Linked DNA regions of Homo sapiens: region 1 is linked to region 2. The links are contacts of gene promoters, found by promoter capture Hi-C in human tissues and cell types (Jung and others, 2019). All regions are on one chromosome and are shown on one strand. Each heading gives the region's core, a stretch centred on a gene start or on the middle of the fragment in contact. The rest is flanking DNA. Distances are from core to core; before and after follow the strand shown. Region 1 holds the start of ST6GALNAC2 (ST6 N-acetylgalactosaminide alpha-2,6-sialyltransferase 2). Region 2 holds the start of ST6GALNAC1 (ST6 N-acetylgalactosaminide alpha-2,6-sialyltransferase 1).

The links. The method cuts DNA at HindIII sites, captures the fragments that hold promoters and counts their contacts. A contact is called where the count stands out against the background at its distance.
Region 1: a contact is called between the fragment with the promoter of ST6GALNAC2 here and the fragment with the promoter of ST6GALNAC1 in region 2, in 1 of the 25 tissues and cell types used here (adrenal gland).

The regions. Positions count from the first base shown.
Region 1 is chr17:76,584,518-76,587,217 of GRCh38, forward strand. ST6GALNAC2 (ST6 N-acetylgalactosaminide alpha-2,6-sialyltransferase 2) reads right to left here and starts at 1,343. Exons shown (of 9, transcript NM_006456.3): 1 at 1,167-1,343. The coding sequence starts at 1,291. RefSeq lists silencers at 1,100-1,439, 1,490-1,779 and enhancers at 1,648-2,329, 2,330-2,700. The HindIII fragment of the contact is 21,800 bases long and covers 1-2,700 here.
Region 2 is chr17:76,642,317-76,645,016 of GRCh38, forward strand. ST6GALNAC1 (ST6 N-acetylgalactosaminide alpha-2,6-sialyltransferase 1) reads right to left here and starts at 1,441. Exons shown (of 9, transcript NM_018414.5): 1 at 1,192-1,441. The coding sequence starts at 1,322. The HindIII fragment of the contact is 5,915 bases long and covers 1-2,700 here.

The DNA of each region.
Region 1 (2,700 bases), core at 93-2,592, 58 kb before region 2:
CAACCAGGCTGGAATGCAGTAGTGCAATCACAGCTCACAGCCTCGAATTCCTGGCCTCAAGCTATCCTCCCACCTCCGCCTCCCAGAGTGCTGGGACTACAGGCGTTAAGTCACCGTGGCGGGGCAAGCACCCTTTGTTCTAAGAGTGCTGGACTCCTGATCACTGGCAAGCTGTTTCACATTGTTCTGCAACTTTTGGTGTATCCTTTGACAGCATCTGTGGAGACCAGATACTTATTTTGTTTTCATCCCGTTAGCCCCCCAGCAAGGTTGGTAGGGGGTGCGCAGATGGAAAAGCTCCAGGAAGGGAAAGGCTGGGGCTGGAGGCCTCTCCCTGAGGCTGCCGGGCCCTTCCCTCCTCCCAAACCCAGACTTCGCACGGCTTGGTCCGCCTTTCTTAAGCTAAGCGAAATCGTTTTGCGGCTTCTTCAGTCACCGGAACCACCACCTGCTAGAGGCCGGCTCCCAGGTTCTCCTCGTGGGACACCCAGGAAAGTGCCTAGGGAGGAGGAGGGAGTGGAGCGCAGGACGCGGCGCGGGGAGGAGAACGCGGATGGAGCCAGGAGTCACCCCTCTTTCCCTCGGGCGCCCGCCTCTTCGCGGATCGCGCCCGCACTGGGCTTATCCAGACACGGCGAGCGGAAGCCGGGGAGAAGGGAGCGGGCGCGGGGCGGACAGAGACCGCAGCGGGCGGGAAAGGCGACTGGCCGCGGCCCGACGGAGGGTCCCCGCGAAGTTGGAAACCGGAGACTTGGGCCCCTGCCCAAAAAGCAGAATCTGACGTTACCGAGGGAGAGTTCCCGACAAAAAAGGAAGTTTTTATCTGCTTCGGGGACCCAGCCAGATTTCGACAATAGAAAGTGTACTTATCAGGCCGGGGAGGACTTCACCAACAAGGGGCACCGGGGCGGGTCGCCAGTGCACAGGGGCGAGGTCTTCCTTGGACCCAGGCAAAGGCCGCGGGGTCCGGGCAGCGCGAGGTCAAGGCTGGGAGAGGGTTCTGGCGACAAAGGGCCGCGGCCGAGTCCTCGCTGAGAGCTGCCCCAGAGGGGTCCACGCGGAGGTTGGGCTGAGGGCTGCGGGCCGCCGGGGAGCCCTGGGCTGGGGACCCTCCCCGCGCCCTGGTCGCCCCTGCGCCCTCCCGCTCTGCGCTCGGCAGCCCCTACCTGGCTCCGGCCGCTGGCCCCGGGTACCGCTGCACCGCCGAGAAGTACAGGGCAAAGAGGAGCCCCGAGCAGGCAGCCGTGAGCAGGAGCAGCAGCCAGAAGAACGACCCGCGCGGGAGCCCCATACAGCCCCGGCCCGCGAGCGCCCCGTCCGCTGACGTCCCAGGCAGAAGGGAGAGAACCGGGTGGGCCGGGTGGCACTTGCGGAGGCGGCCGTCTTGCCCTGCCCCGCCCTGCCCGCCGGGTGCCTGCGGCGCCTGCCCGCCCGGCAGCTCCCTCTCGGCCCCGGCTGAGTGGCCAGAGGCTGCCGCACCCTCGGGAGCTGGGCGGCGGGTCCCCCGGGGCTGGAGTGTCGTCCCGGCGCCCAGAGCGCGCGCTCCTTTGGCCCTGCCCCCTGCCCGGGGGACTTCGGCAGCGGCCACTCCTGCCACTGCGCTCTCTCCAGAGCCCAGCCCCGGGAGGCCGCCAGTCTCGGGTTGGGCAGGGCGCTTTCCTCGCGCCGTCCGGGGCTAGCTAGGCGCGGGTAGACGCCGCCACCTGCTGCGCTGGCTGCGCTCTGCCCTCTGCGGGCCCGGCACTCGGCCTCTAGACTCTGTGGCGGGTGGGCGGCGGCCGGGAGGAGATGTGCCCGGCTCCCTCCAAAGGACCCTCAGATCTGTCAGTCTGCGGACGCCAGGACAGCTGGGAGGGGGCGGGCAGGGTGGAGGAGCAAAACCCGACAGCTCAGTCTCTGGGCTGGCGGTAGAGGGGGGAAAAGGGGGTGAGGTGGGGAGCTTGCCGTGATGGGTTTCGTGGGGGAGCTAAGGCTGTCAGCGCTTATTTGGTAACCATCCAGGGTGGCCAGTCCCCTCAATCGCATTGAGTTCCTTTCACAGAACGAGGCCAGTCAGAGAGACCACCTGAAATGTTCAGCACAACGGGTTCCCAAACTTATTGGCACCAGGGACTGGTTTCCTGGAAGACAATTTTTCCACGGAGGGGGGTGGGGGTGGGGGGGTTGGGGATGAAACTGTTCCACCTCAGATCATCAGGCATGAGTTAAGATGCTCTCATAAGGAGCCCGCAACCTAGATCCCTGGCATGCGCATTTCACAAAAGGGTTCGCACTCCTTTGAGACTCTAATGCCGAGGCTGATCTGAAGGAGGCGGAGCTCAGGCGGTAATGCTCCTTCCCCCTCCACTCACCTCCTGCTGCGATGCCCTGTTCCTAACAGGTCTCGGACCAGGCTTGGGATTGGGGACCCCTGGTCTAGCAGGCTCCAGCATCAGAAAGGGCTGGGAAGCTCAGCACCCGTGCTCTCTAAGTGGAACACTCCCTGGCAGTGAGTGATGGATGAGATGGGTGTGCTTCAGTGGCCACTGTTCGGCAAGCTGTGACATGCGGCAGGCTGTGACATGCCCCAGACTCCCAACTGTCAGCAGGCTGCAAGGATGAGAGGGACCTAGGCTACCGTGTCACGGGCCTTTGGCTCTAATCTGTTCTTCATGTATCCGAGGAAGTCTGGGTGCAGCAACAGGTACCTGTCTGATTGCA
Region 2 (2,700 bases), core at 191-2,690:
TCTTGGCCCTGCCGCATACTAGCAGGGTGACCTTGGGAGAATCACTTCAGTTCTGTGTATCTCAGTGTCCTAATAATGAGAATTAGTGAGTTAACGTATATCAAGCACTTAGAATAGGGGCTAGCTCATAGTAAATACTATAGCAGTGTTAGCTACATAATAATAGAATTCCGTGTACCCTCAAGTGTCAAGAGTGGTCACCTTGAAGAGTGGATAGAGGTGGAGGTATAATAGGGAGACCCTCACTTCCTGCTTCACCTTTCTGTATTTTTTTTAACTCTATGAGAACCTGCATTACTTTCAACGTTTAGGAACAGTGAAATGAAATTATTGGCTGGGCGCAGTGGCTCACGCCTGTCATCCCAGCGCTTTGGGAGGCCGAGGTGGGTAGATCACTTGAGGTCGGGAGTTCAAGACCAGCCTGGCCAACATGGTGAAAACCTGTCTCTACTAAAAATACAAAAACTTAGCCAGGCCTGGTGGCATGCGCCTGTAGTCCCAGCTACTCAGGAAGCTGAGGCTTGAACCTGGGAGGTGGAGGTTGCAGTGAGCTGAGATCATGCCACTGCACTCCAGCACTCCGGCAGCAGAGTGAGACTCCGTCTCAAAAAAAAAAAAAAAAAAAAGAGGGCCTCTCACTGCTGGAGATGTGTGTATTTTCTAAGAAAAATGGTCTAGAAGGTATTTTTGAAGGATTAACTTGGCGTCCACAATTGAAACTGCATCCCTAAGAGGGAGGCTCTCCATTTTAACTGACAAACTTAGGGTGAGTCCGGGTCTGAAACAAGTGGAACACACAGCATGGCTCTTTCGCTTCAGGACGTAGAGAATGGCATGTAAGAACTAACCCAGTGCTGCTGCCATTACTCACAGTCCCAGAGGGGAAAGCAGTCATGTCTTCTGTCTGCACTCTGCAGACCTAACCCATCAGTTCTCAAACTCCTGTACGTGTCCCACAGTATCTGGACATGTCCATCCCATGCGTCTTGGTTGCCCACTGCCACCCTTTCTGTTCCCTGCAAGTCTTCCCATTAGTCTTTCTTCCCAGTGCTTCTTGAGAACACTCCTGACCCCTGACACTCCCATGTGGACACACAGGTGGCTCAGACTTCCCCAGTCCTCCCTGGGCTATCATTTTTCTGTTTCCTCAAATGAATGAAATATGAGGAGTGGAAAGGACAAGAATCTTACCTGGAAGGCTTTGTTTGAGGCTCCTTAATAAAAGAGGGCAAGGCGAAGAGAAAGAAGACCAGGACAGCCAGAAGCAAGGACCACTGGACGCCTTGGCTCAGGTGCCTGCATCTCCACAGGCAGGACCTCATGGTGGTGGGTCGGGTTCTAGAGGAAGGTTCTGCATGTCCTGGGGCCTTGATGTAGGCAGCTGGGAGTCTCACCGCTCAGGTTTCCTGGCCAGGAAGTGCACACCCTTTGTCTTAACAATGAGCCACTCCGGCAAGTGCTGAGTTTATCAGTCTCTGCCTGGGAAGGGAGGAACCGCCTTCACTGCTGTATGAAGGCTTATAAGCTGGCGTGGCTTAAAGGAAGGGAAACTCCTTGTGTTCAAACATGTTTACCTTCCTTTTTTGTCTTTGAAGCCAATATCTGAAAGTCAAGCTTTATGAGAAATATAACCACATTATATGCAGTCTCATCTTGGTCAGGTTACTTAACCCATCTGCCGCCATATAAATGGAAAAAAGCAGTTATCTTCCTTTTGGGATTATCATGAAGACACCTTGAGGCCACCATGCACAGGGCTTTGTTTGTGGTAGGCACCCAACACACATGTTCAACACTTTAGCTCAACCTTCTCTGTTTCTCTTCTGAAATCATGACCATTACAACAATGACCAGCACGTATGAGGGCTCACTCTGAGCTGGGCAGTGGGGAGTCTTCACAGGCACTCATGGAACCCTCACAGCCACTCTAGGGGCTGGGTACTGTCATCACCTCCATTTGACAGAGGAGGAAATGGCCTCCAAGAACAAGCTGCCAGCCCAAGAGCACATGGTGAGCCACTGGCTTGGGGTCCAGATCCAACTGACCTAGAGATTGCATTCTTTTTTTAAGAAATAGAGATGGGTCTCAGTATGTTGCCCAGGCTGGTCTCAAACTCCTGGACTTAAGTGATCCTCCCACCTCAGCCTCCCAAAGTGCTGGGATTACAGGCATCGGCCACCATGCCCAGCCATGATTGCATTTTTCTTTCTTTTTTTTTTTTGAGACATTCTCACTCGTTGCCAGCCTGGAGTGCAGTGGCGCAATCTTGGCTCACTGCAACCTCCGCCTCCCGGGCTCAAGTGATTCTCCTGCCTCAGCCTCCTGAGTAGCTGGGACTACAGGCACCCAACACCACACCCGGCTAATTTTTGTATTTTTAGTGGAGACGGGGTTTCACCATGCTGGCCAGGATGGTCTCGATCTTCTGACCTCATGATCCACCTGCCTCGGCCTCCCAAAGTGCTAGGATTACAGGTGTGAGCCACCGTGCCTGGCCGATTGCATTCGTATCCACTGCTTAGTAGCACCTACGAGAAATCATTAACTCTACCTTGATCAAAGCAATGCAAAACAAAACCCACATAATTCTTGGGAAAAAAAAGTACACCTCAGAGGAAAAACATCAAGACCATTTGTAGAAAACTTTAAAAATTCAGAGAAGCAGCCCTCCATAAAGTACTGTGAGTTAGTAATTTTAT